Regions from separate parts of the Homo sapiens genome. Here region 2 is linked to region 1. Evidence: promoter capture Hi-C in human tissues and cell types (Jung and others, 2019). All regions are on one chromosome and are shown on one strand. Each heading gives the region's core, a stretch centred on a gene start or on the middle of the fragment in contact. The rest is flanking DNA. Distances are from core to core; before and after follow the strand shown.

What was found. The method cuts DNA at HindIII sites, captures the fragments that hold promoters and counts their contacts. A contact is called where the count stands out against the background at its distance.
Region 2: a contact is called between a fragment that was not itself captured here and the fragment with the promoter of FAM107B in region 1, in 1 of the 25 tissues and cell types used here (lymphoblastoid cells).

The regions. Positions count from the first base shown.
Region 1 is chr10:14,770,738-14,777,319 of GRCh38, forward strand. FAM107B (family with sequence similarity 107 member B) reads right to left here and starts at 4,160. Exons shown (of 5, transcript NM_031453.4): 1 at 3,516-4,160. The coding sequence starts at 3,926. The HindIII fragment of the contact is 6,601 bases long and covers 1,477-6,582 here.
Region 2 is chr10:13,575,455-13,581,783 of GRCh38, forward strand. No RefSeq gene overlaps it. Among named protein-coding and RNA genes, the nearest start is that of PRPF18, 8.3 kb to the right of the region's middle. The HindIII fragment of the contact is 7,679 bases long and covers 1-6,329 here.

The DNA of each region.
Region 1 (6,582 bases), core at 2,910-5,409:
AAAAGTTGAAGACTGATCAATAGCATTTCTTCAATACAGACATGTGCGCTCATCACTAAACCAAACAAAAATGTTTCATATTTGCTTAGTTTGTTTAGCTTCATTACCTCAAGCTTTCTCTCTTGAACCAGATATTGTTTCCAATATAAATGAGCCACCCTCCTGTCTGAACATCAGGTAACTGAAGATAGAGAGAGGGGCTTGTCCCCATTTCTTACCTTATGTCTGAGGCTGAACTAAAAAAAAAAAAAAAAAAAAAAAAAAAAAGATTATTTGTGGCCTCTACAGAGGCAGCTTAAATAATGAGGATCAGTGCATCCAAAAGGGAAATATTTTTCCGCCAGGCAAGATTGTAATAAAAGCATCTCATTCATCATCTGCTAAGGGAAAACATGCCATTGCAAAGTCACTTGGTAATGAAAAATCTGGGCAGTTCTAAGCCACTTTTAATCAGAAGATCTCAAAGCAATCCCCCACACTGCCAGCGGCAAAGCTTTGTCACTCACAGGATGCAAAATGGACATCTTCTGTGGTGTTATATACCATGAAGCTATGGTAGAAAAGGGTAAAGCATATGAATAAAAACAAATAATAATAGTTATTGAATATCATTAAGAGGAGTTGGTTACTGGATACAAAAGTACAGTTAGAAGGAACAAATTCGAGTATTCGATAGTACGGTGGAGAAGTTATAGTTAACAATAATTTATTGTGTATTTCAAAATAGCTAGAAGACAGGAATTGTAATGTTCTCAACACAGGGAAAAGGTAAGTGTTTGAGGTGGTAGATATCCCAGTTACCCTGATTTAATTACACATTTATACATGTATACATACCCCAAAAAATATACAACTGTGATATATCAATTAAAATAACAACAAATAAAAATAAATTAAAAAACAAATAATAATTATATCGACATCAACATATAAATACATGGAATTAATTTATTCATTTTTGTAGAGATGAACCTTCGTTATGTTGCCCAGGCTGGTCTCAAACTTCTGGTCTCAAGTGATTCTCCCTCCTTGGCTTTCCAAAGCTCTGGGTGACAGGCATGAGCCACTATGCCCAGCCAATATGTATGATATTTAAATGTGATTGAGTATCAAGCGAGATCACATATGAATAGTTGATCCTAAATCCTCAAACACTACACAATTAATTAGTAGTAGAAGCACATTATAATTCAGAGGATGGACTTTGGAGTCAAACAGAAGTGGGTTCCAGTCCTGTCTCTGCCACATCCTCTCTTTGTGGCCTTGGGCAAATGTCTTACCCTCTTTAAGCATCCATGCCCTCCTCTGTAACATGGGCACCATAAGAATATGCACTGGCCGGGCATGGTGGCTCACTCCTGTAATCCCAGCACTTTGGGAGGCTGGGCGGGGGAGTCATGAGGACAGGAGATCGAGACCATCCTGGCTAACACGGTGAAATCCCATCTCTACTGAAAATACAAAAACTTAGCTGGGCCTGGTGGCAGGCACCTGTAGTCCCAGCCACTCGTGGGGCTGAGGCAGGAGAATTGCTTGAACCTGGGAGGCAGAGGCTGCAGTGAGCCAAGATCGTGCCACTGCACTCCAGCCTGGGAGACAGAGCAAGACTCCATCTTAAAAAAAAAATATATATATATATATATGCACCTCACTGTCACCAGGGTTGGCTGAGATACTCTGTGTAAAGCACTTAGAATAAGGGCTAGCGAACTACAAGTGCTCTGCACAGCTTAGCTCTCGGTGTTTGAACTAGAATAGATGCCCATTTACCCACATCAGGCCCTCTTCCTGCACCTCCTGGCACTTGATTTCAGTGTTTGCATTGCATCACTGCTTCCCTCCCTGCCTGGTTTGGACCGCACAGTCAACTGCCGCGTGTCCTGCCTCATGGAGCCCCTCCCACTTTATCTCCCTGTTGTTCCTGTCTGGATTGTTACAATGTCCTCTCTGCTCCGGGCTTCCCAACTGTAATCCATCCTACGCTGTGGACCACCCATGGCTTTGCTCCTGCCAAGTGGACACTAAACATGGATGTGGCCCCATTTTGTGTTATTGGTTCTATTTGAATTCACATGCTTGCCTTGAGTCCCTGAGTCCCATGTGCAACTAAAACAGAAAGATAAAATCAAAGTAACCCTTTGTTCTTGCGGCTGTCTTCAGTAATATAAGGTGGGTCTGCATTGCTCAACAGAAAGTCTTCCGGTTCATTAAAACTGTACATCATTGGTACCATAAATATCCAACAAATATCAACTTGGCCATGAATTCTAATCAGCTACCTATAATACTACCAAAAATATCTTAATCTGGATGTGGCTATACACTGAAAATTTTGGTTTTTGCTGGTTGGTTATGGGCTTTGGTTTAGTGGTGCTAGAAAAAAACATAGCAGTTTTTGCTGTGACAGAGGATATGGTAAAACTCTCTGTCCAATTTCAGAATGCAGACGACAGACCCAAGCTTCAGTCATTTCATATAAACCTGCAGGGTGTCAAATGAAACTATTTTTTAAATGATGTTTTAACCCTATCTTTGCTGGTTGGCTGTGTTCTTGCTAAGGAGGCTTCTTAGATTCTGTGAAGCAAGCCAGACCAAAAAATAATTTGTTAAACGGATGTGGAAAAATGATTTAAAAAATCAGAATACTTTAGTGATGGATCCCCAAAGACTTCTCAGTTTTTTAAGTCTGGTCCTAAGCTACTTGGCTAGGAAATGACCAAAAATGGTCAAGAGATATCTTTGGAGTGTACCTTTTAGAAAACCTTTCCTCTACACTGCATCTGCAAACTGGGATTACCGGGAACTTTGAAATAATTGTACAGCTCCATCTAATCAGAATACTCAACAATTAAAATTCACTGATGCCAAAAATGGAAAGAAAATAAGTAAATAACTCTTAAGAGCAGTGGCACCATTTTTTTTAAATAACTTCCTCCTCCTGCCTTCAACTCTCAGAAGATTATCACAAAAACATCCATATTATGAATAGTTTTATAGGTCAGTTCCCTTCCGTACCACTAGGCATACACTGATGATCATTTCCAAATTTTTCCAGACTGCTTTGATATCATGTGATTCATTTTAAGTAGAGGCAGTTTTGTGAATTCCCTAGCCAAACTTTTTAGATTGTGGATTTTCATATAAATAAATTGACAGACCGGTGGGGGTGGAGGGGGAAATAGAAAAAGGAAAAAAATGTTTTTGTAAACTATCTTACTCCTAATCTGTTATTGAGTGAGCCATTTTTGGCTCTAAGGCACCCTAGCCCGTTAATTCAAGGTTACCTTCGGTCATTGCCATGGCTCCAGTGCTTATTATCATTGCCTCATCCACATCTTTTGAGAACACTCTGAGAATCTACACGGCTTTAACACACTTCTTCGCACTAGTGAGAACGCCCGCAATGCCTTATTCAGTAAGGTTAAATGAGTTTGTTTGCTGAAACATTCGCCACATGATCCCAACGCTCCTCCAGCTCCATCCCGTCTATAATCGCAGAGCGAACACTCACTCACCTTGGGCGTGTCAATAATTGATGGTCTGGGGATGGAAGCGTGAAACACCACTGCTTCACAGTCCGCCCCATCATCCAGGGACCCGGGCACATCTTCAGGCGTCTCCGCGGGCTGGGCCGCAGTGCGGTGACTTGAATTCCGATTCGCACTGCCATTTCTCTCTGCATGGGTGCTCGAATCTTGCCTTTTCTCTGGAGCTCCTTCTGCGCTTGGGTGTCTTGGCTGTCTGCCTGCTTTGGCCACAGGCTGCACACGGACGGTGGAATGAGTATCAGCCACGCCGGACTGATTGAAGGAAGCACTCTCCCTCGTATTCCCAAAACAGGCGAGCAGAGCTGAGCACGGAAATGGATGCATGCTTCTAGAGGGAGACTTCAGTCTTTTGGTGAGTCTTGCTTTCCACGTGGACATGACTTGCAGTGAATCATTGCAAAGTTCAAACGGGGCAAGGAAATTTTCCAGGGGTCCACATCACCTCCACTTTGCTTATAGGAACTCTTTCCAATTGCCCGAAGAGAAGAACTTGCTAGTGGTTGCCCCTAAATAGAAGTTGGGATGGCAAGGCCACCTTCCCTGAGAGTCACTTAGCCGCTGGGGCCCCTTTGAAAGTGTCCATCCTGGGCAATTTCGCGCTCTTCCTTCTGTGATGCTGTCAGTGGCTAAAGAAAGCTGTTGGGGAGGCATGTGAGTGGCTCCGGTTACAGTTCCTAGGCAGGGCAGACGCTTCAGGGTAGGGTAGTGCCAAGTCAATAGACAATTGCTTCAGGTTACCTAGGAGGCATAAAGATAATGTAGCCTGATAGCATCTGCCATAATAGCGTCAGCCTGCGTATCAATAACATCATAACAGCAGCAAAACCTTCTTTGGTTACCCCCCTTCAAATATTTATTCCCCCAAACAAAACAAAAACGACCCAGTTGTCCATCACAAATGAAGACCCCTAGAAGGGCCACGACCCTAGCAGCTGTTTCATTATTAAAATAGGAGGTAGACTCAATCTTTCGCCTGGAGAGATGCGGTGTGATGTGTTTTCTGAATCTTTCTGGACTTTTCGGGATCTTTCCGGAATCTTCCCGGAATCTTCCCCCCACCCTCAAAACAAGTTTCCTGGTTTCAGGATCCACATTGCCTTTTCTGATAACTATAAATAGGTCTTTGGTAATTTGATTTTTTTTTTTTTACTAGCTAGGCTAAGTTCTTGATTAGTTTTCAACAATACCAAAAAGAAAAAAGAGAGCCCTACATTAACAATTATCCTTATGTATTATGTTATTATGTGTGGAGGTATTATGTACATGTGAAGTATTCTACCTATATGGTATATATCACCTACTTTCAGAAAGTAACTCCTTTTTGAACATAGATCTTCTGTTTCTCAACACATTAATATGTGAATGGTGAAAAATAATAAATTATAAACATATTCTAAGACAATTCAGAATCAAGATTTTTCCTTAGCCAACTGTCTGCTAGGAATGTTATAGAAATGTAATACTGTAATGCTTTTACCGTTAATAGTGATTTTAGGGTCAAGATTTCTGGGCATGTTACCCACTCTTAATTAATTTGTTTGCTCTCTCTTTTAATTTAATGTCAAGATGTGCTCTTTGGCCCAGACAGGTGGTAGTTATTATATTATGGCACTGATTCCCGTTTTACAGAGGCAGAAACCAATTCTTTGAAATTTCATGTGACTAAGGCAAGTTTATGCCACTAAGAAGGGCTTGTTGGGTGCCCGAGATCCCTGTTCTCCTATCTGTCCTCTGAGTCTCATTCTATCTAACAATCATTTTATAGATGTAATGGCCATACGGGAAATATTGTTCTAAATGGACAGTCATATTCATAATACAAAAAGGCAGATATGGCTTTAGAATGAGTGGATATGGCATCAAATGCACATTTTATTTTAGTCTCTACTGAAAGTTAGAATATAGAAAGCTTCCATTTATTTAGAGGTTACCGTGTGGCAGGCCCCGTGCTATCCAAGCTGTTTCTGGCTTCCCAGGGTTGTGAGCTCATTCTTTTTTCATTGTGTCCCAAGTGCAAGCTGTCCAAATTCCCCACCCATAAGAAATCAGGGGGTTCAGGTTTCTACCAGGGTCCCCCCTCCCAGATATTCCTGGAGACCCCTCGGAACTGCACTTTGTCTCCCATTTGACTTGGTTGCTACAGTCCACTCGGGTCGGGTCGTGCCATGCTGTGCCCCTCCAAGCACACGTATAGTAAATCGGGGCTGTGATGCTGCATAAGACATTTTTGAAGGCTTGGAGGTAACAGGAAGGGATTTAAGAAAAGAAAAATGCACTCTTACACCTGGTTTCATTCACTCATTCATATATTCATTCAATTATGTGTCAAGCCCCTTTTGGAACAGAGAGTCAGCAGTTCACAGTGCAGCTTGCGAGCGGCCACATTCAGGAGACCGCTGAGGAAGAAAGCTCAGAGCCACTTTCTAGGTCTGCGGAGGCCCTGGGCTTGCATCCGGGCTCTGAGGACCACCTCTCCTCGCTCAGTGGGTGTGCTCAGAGGCACGCATGAACTCATCGGAGTTCCAGCACTGGCCCGCTAAGAACAGTAGACTTTCTGATTAGTGTGTTGCTAAGTCTGACCTAGAATAACACTCAGTAACAGGCCATGGTTATTGAGTGTTTGGTATCAGACATGAATCTCAGCAAATTAACTCATTTAATCCTCACAACCCTAGAAGAAAGGTGATATTATTATTCCCATTTTTACTCATTAGAAAACCAAGACACAGAAACTTAAGTAACTTGCCCAAGGTCACAGCACTGCTTAAGGAAATGAGAAAAGGTGATGAGTCCAGCAACCTGGCCCCAGAGCTCATACTTTTCTCAGTATGCAATCCTGCTTTCCAAAAACACACATGCACGTGCACACACACAGATACATACTCCAGAGAGGACATTTCCAATGACCTTGATCCAACACTCTACCTCTAAGAAGTTATTTTGTAATGACGATCTTTAAAAAGTCAGGAAACAACAGATGCTGGAGAGGATGTGGAGAAATAGGAACACTTTTACACTGTTGGTGGGAGTGTAA
Region 2 (6,329 bases), core at 1,581-4,080, 1.2 Mb before region 1:
ATGTTATTTTGCCTCCTTAGCTAGTAACATATTTTGTCATTCCTTTATCTGGGTGTTGCTTTATATCCTTCAATAACATTTTATAAACCTTTCCCCATGGAATCTGGACTTTTTTGTTCTTTATTTCTAAGATTTTGTACTTTTTAAATGTAACATTTTCCTATTTCCACTTCTATCTCATTATTGCATGCACAGAAAAAACATCAATTTTAAACTTATTTTGAATTTAGCTATATTACATTTCCTTGTTAATTCTAGTTTTTAAAAAGTCAATGGCTTGTAGGGTTTTCTTGGAAAATGATTGAATCATTGGCAGAATGCAATAACGTTATCTCCGTTTTTCCAATATTTATATTTACTCTTAATTTTTTCTTATTTCTCTCACAGAACATCTAAAACAAGATTGAATTATTATGATGACAGTGATGATCCACATCTTATTGTTTTAGTATTTCACCATTTAGAATCGTGTCTACTATTGAATATTATTAAGTAATCTTATCATATTTAAATAATTTCCCTATATTTATTTTACTCAGAGTTTTTTATTATTATTATTATTGTTAGTAATGACCCCTACATTGTATTAAATGCCTTCTCAGGGTTTTTTAAAAATATAATTCTTTATTTTTCCTCTTGCAATTTGTTGATGTAGTTAATTATTTAGGTACATTTCCTTGGAATAAACCCTACTTAGTCATAGTGTGTGCGGATGTGTGTGTGTGTGTGTGTGTTTCGAGATAGAGTCTAGCTCTGTTGCCCAGGCTGGAGTGCAGTGGCAGGATCTTGGCCCACTGCAACCTCTGCCTCCCGGGTTCAAGTGATTCTCCTGCCTCTGCCTCCCAAGTAACTGGGACCACAGGCGCATGCCACCAAGCCCAGGTAATTTTTTGTATTTTTAGTAGAGACGAGGTTTCACCATGTTAGCCAGGAGGGTCTCAATCTCCTGACCTTGTGATTCGCCTGTCTTGGCCTCCCAAAGTGCTGGGATTACAGGCCTGAGCCACTTTGCCTGGCCCATAGTGTGTTTTTTAATGCACTGCTAAATTCTATTTGCTAATATTTTAGGCACAAGTTTTCAATCTATGTTCATAAATGCAATGAGAATGTATATATGTTTTTCCATTGGTCCTTTTTCAGGCTTCAGTATGAAGTTTATCATGGCTTCATAAAATGCCCTGGAGAGCTTTCCAAATTTTTCTGTAGTCTAGAATAATTTTAGAGCGGCAGTTCTCAAAAGTGCGGTCCATTGAGGGGATTGGTGAGGTCAAAGCTATTTTTACAATAACGCTAACATTATGTGCCCTTTTCACTATGTTGACATTTGCACTGGAGGTACAAAAACAACAGTCAGTGTGCTGGTAACATTAGCATGAACCAAAACACCAGCATGAAACCTTACCAGCCGTCATAGTCTTCACTGCCATATACCCATGAAAGAAAAATTAAAAAAAAAGGCCAGTTTCACTTAAACATATTTTCAATAAAGCAGTAGAAATTATTAATTTTATTAAATCTTGACACTTGAATAAGCATCTTTTTAATATTCTGTGTGATGAAACAGGAAGTACACAGAAAGCAACCTGCTGCATACAGAAGTATGATGGTTGGCTTTAGAAAAAGCATTGTGCAATTGAAATGCAAACTGAACTAGCTTTTTTTCCCCATGGAATATTTCTTTTACTAGAAAGAATAAGCAATAGACAAACTATGGTTCTTCAGAGTTGGGTATCTGGTGGACATTTTTTTTCTTTTTATGACATCTCACTTGTGTGTGTGTGTGTGTGATTTTTTTCTTTTTTTTTTATACTTTAAGTTCTGGGATACGTGTGTAGAACGTGCAGGTTTGTGACATAGGTATACGCATGCCATGGTGGTTTGCTGCACCCATCAACCCATCACTTACATTAGGTATTTCTCCTCCCCTAGCCCTCCACCCCCTGCAGGCCCCGGTGTGTAATGTTCCCCTCCCTGTGTCCATGTGTTCTCATTGTTCAACTCCCACTTATGAGTGAGAACATGTGGTGTTTGGTTTTCTGATCTTGTGATAGCTTGCTGAGAATGAGGGTTTCCAGTTTCATCCATGTCCCTGCAAAGGACGTGAACTCATCCTTTCTTATGGCTGCATAGCATTCCGTGGTGTATATGTGCCACATTTTCTTAATCCAGTCTATCACTGATGGACATTTGGGTTGGTTCCAAGTCTCTGCTATTGTGAATAGTGCTGCAATAAACATACATGTGCATGTGTCTTTATTGTAGAATGATTTATAATCCTTTGGGTATATACCCAGTAATGGGATTGCCGGGTCAAATGGTATTTCTAGTTCTAGATCCTTGAAGAATCGCCACGCTGTTTTCCACAATGGTTGAACTAATTTATACTCTCTGGTGGACATTTTTTTGCAAATGAACAAAGTGAGCCTGTCATTTGAGGAAAACACCAGACAATATTTGTTGCTAGTGATAAAAGTGAGCTTTCAGTAAAAATTAGCATTTTGGAAAGTTGCACCTGTCACCATGAGCTTGATGTCTGCCCAGGGATTAAAAGGCTTTTCTGGCCAGGTGTGGTGGCTCACGCCTGTAATCCTGGCACTTTGGGAGGCCGAGGCAGGTGGATCACTTGAGGTCAGGAGTTCAAAACCAGTCTGGCCAACATGGTGAAACCCTGTCTCTACTAAAAATACAAAAATTAGCCGGGCGTGATGGCACACACCTGTAATGCCAGCTACTTGGGAGGCTGAGGGAGGAGAATCGCTTGATCCTGAAGGGCAGAGGTTGCCATGAGCCGAGATCACTCCAGCCTGACGACAGAGCAAGACTCTGTCTCAAAACAAAACAACAAAAAAGACTTTTTTTCTGATGAGAGGGAGGAGGTGGTATTAATGAATGTGATTTTTAAAATACTGTGTAATAAAATGTGTCAACATTTGGAAGATCTGTATACATCACTGAGCTTATACTTTCCAAATGACCAATGGATTCTGCTACAAAATCACGTATGAGTAAAAGATCCATCCAAAATTCAAGATAGACCAGTGAATTTTAATGTTTCAGATTCCACGTTGCAACTAACTCTTAAAAAACGACTGCTACTCAAAGTTGGAGGTAATATCAAAGAAGAATTTCCATGAGAATTAAGATACTTTTCCCTGTTCCAACTATGTATCTCTGTGAGGCTAGATTTTCCTTATATGCTTCAACCAATATAATATACTGCAATAGATCGAATGGAGAAGTAGATAGGAGAATCCTGTGTTCTTCCACTAAGCTAGACATTAAGGAAGTTTGCAACAGTGTAAAATAATGCTACTTTTCTCATTAAATTTTTTGAAACTATAATTGCTTTTGACAAAAACATGTTGTTTGTATTAATATATAAAGTGTTCATTATATGATTTTAAGTGAATTAATTTTTTAAAATTTCTGTTTTTATTTCTAGTATGACAAATATCAAGAGCTATAACCCACACAAAGCTTTTTGGGGGTCCTCAAGAATTTTTAAAAATGGAAAGGGGTTCTGAGACCAAAAAGTTTGAGAATAACTTGCTCAAATCATGTTAGAGTATTTCTTCTTCAAAGGCTGCATAGATCTCAATAGGAAAACATCTGGATCTGGCGCCTTTATAAGTGGGGTCTACAATCACTTTGCTTTCTCTGTGTTCCATTTGCTTATTAAAGTTTTCTACTCTTTCTTGGTTAATTGTGGTAACTTAGATTTTTGCTAAGAAATCATCCATTTCTTCTAGGTTTTCAAGTTTATTGCCAGTGAGTTGCAGGCAGTATTTCTCACATTTCCTTCAAGCACTTTTGCATTCTTGGTTACTTCTTCTTCTTCTTCTTTTTTTTTTTTTTTTTTTTTGAAACAGAGTCTCACTCTGTCACCCAGGCTGGAGTGTAGTGGCGTGATCTCAGCTCACTGCAACCTCCGCCTCCTGGGTTCAAGTGATTCTCCTGCCTCAGCCTCCCGAGTAGCTGGGATTACAGGTACGTGCCACCACACCAGCTAATTTTTGTATTTTTAGTAGAGATGTGGTTTCACCATGTTGGCCAGGATGGTCTCGATCTTCTGACCTTAAGTGATCTGCCCATCTCGGCCTCCCAAAGTGCTGGGATTAGAGGCGTGAGCCGTGGTGCCTAGCCTCCTTTCTTAATCTAATCTTGAATTTTTTCTCTTTTTCTCTTGACCTCCCTCTTTAATTCATTTTATTTCGAATATACCACTAATAAAACAGTATAAAAGATTTGGGAGAAAGAGAATAGAAGGACAGATAACAGCAGACAAGAAATGGCATGGAACAAGAAAAGGGCACTGGCTATGGTATATGGGCTGCCCCCCCATCCGATTACTGTGAATGTTCAAGAAAAGAAGATGGCACTGGTGGTTGTCAGCTGGTGTCAGTCTCAGCCTGGGCATCACAGGGCTGACTGATATTTGCAGATCTACCAGGATCCAAGATCTTCTCAACTTTTAACATTCTTTTTTGTTTTTTTTTTTGAGATGGAGTTTCACTCTTGTCACCCAAGCTGGAGTGCAATGGTGTGATCTCCGCTCACTGCAACCTCCACCTCCTGGGTTCAAGCCATTATCCTGCCTCAGCCTCCCAAGTAGCTGAGATTACAGGTGCCCATCACCACACCTGGCTAATTTTTGTATTTTTAGTAGAGACTGGGCTTTACCATGTTGGCCAGGCTGGTCTTGAACTCCTGACCTCAGGTGATCCGCCCACCTGGGCCTCCCAAAGTACTGGGATTATGGGCATGAGCTACTGCGCCCGGTTCAAATTTTAACACTCTTAAATTCAATTCTGTTGGTGTTACCAGACTTGGACCAGGCCAGGGAGCAACTCTCATTAACGATATCCACAAAAATAACTGATGTAAAAACTAGAATACCAATTTAAAATTCCCTACCAAACGGATAAGCGTATACCCATGAGTCCAGAACAAAACATTTCTTTACTTTGTGAGCAAATGGTTCTGTTTCTTTGGGAATCCTCTTGGAGATGCATCTGTAAGGAAATGAGGAAGGCTGGGTTTGGCAGAGGGAGAAGCTGGACTGCAAAGAAGTTGCAGCTGAGACCTTCTGTCATGCTCCTGGGGCAAGCTCTGGAGCTAGATAGAATGACCCTTTAGAGTTGAGTTGAGGCAATGGAGTTGGGCTTTTGAATCTCTACATCAGTCATTGGTTTGGGATGCCCCTTGAAGCAGTGGTAACCCTGGCTGAGGTGGGTCCCTGCAGCTGAGACTGGTCCCTGTGGCCGAGACTGGTCCCTGTCGCCTGGGGTCATGCCAGTGCAGGGTGTAGCTGTGTGCCCTCAGCAACCCTTGTTCCCTGCAGATGAGGGACAGGTGGGTTGGCCTGAAGAGAATATCTGGAGAGAACATCATAGTCCTCACTGTGGTGGTTGTAACATATTGGTTGTAAGGTGCATCCTGAATTCAGAAACATTGAAATGTAAAAAAAAAGAGAGCACCTTAAAAATGCCAAAATATGGTAGTAGGCTTCAGTGGTATTTTTTGGGACAGGGATACAAGCCAGACTCTAGGAAGAACCAGAGTAGAGAATTGGAGATCTGGGGGTGGGGGAGCAGGGATTATTCTTCACGGTTTACTCTTCATGTGTCTTCTTGCAACTCTATTTCACTCTTTTTTCTTGATATTCCAAGTTTCTTTGCTAAACAATTTTCTGGTAATCATCCAACATGGGAGGTGGATCATGGTCAGTGCTGTGCTGGAAATATTTAAAATATCGCCTCTTGGGGGAAAAAAAGGTGTGCACATATATTCATATAATTTTTACTGACATAAAGCATGCAGAGGACACAATTTATAAATAATAATAAACTGTACAATAATCTTTATTGTAAATTCCATATAGCCCATTGATTCTCCCAGAATGCTTTCATTGATTTTTGCAACACTCCAGCATTCCTAGCCAACCTATGGCTATAATTGATGAACATGTCCAGCTCTGTCTGACATGAACGCTGGCTGATATTTTGGCTTCAATCAATGAATAAGACAAAAGTGAACAACGAAGATGTATGTCAGAACTTCACTTGTTTGTCAATGACAGGAGAGACTCAATTGAATCAGATGATAGTTTTCAAATACTAGAAGACTATTTCCTCAATTTTTTTGTCCTATTTACTAAGTAATGGTTACAGACACAACACTTTTACATTTAATTTTTCTTTGGGAGGCCAAGGCTGACAGATCACTTGAGGCAAGGAATTCAACACCAGCCTGGCCAACATGGTGAAACCCCATCTCTACTAAAAATACAAAAATTAGCTGGGTGTGGTGGCGCATGCCTGCAGTCCCAT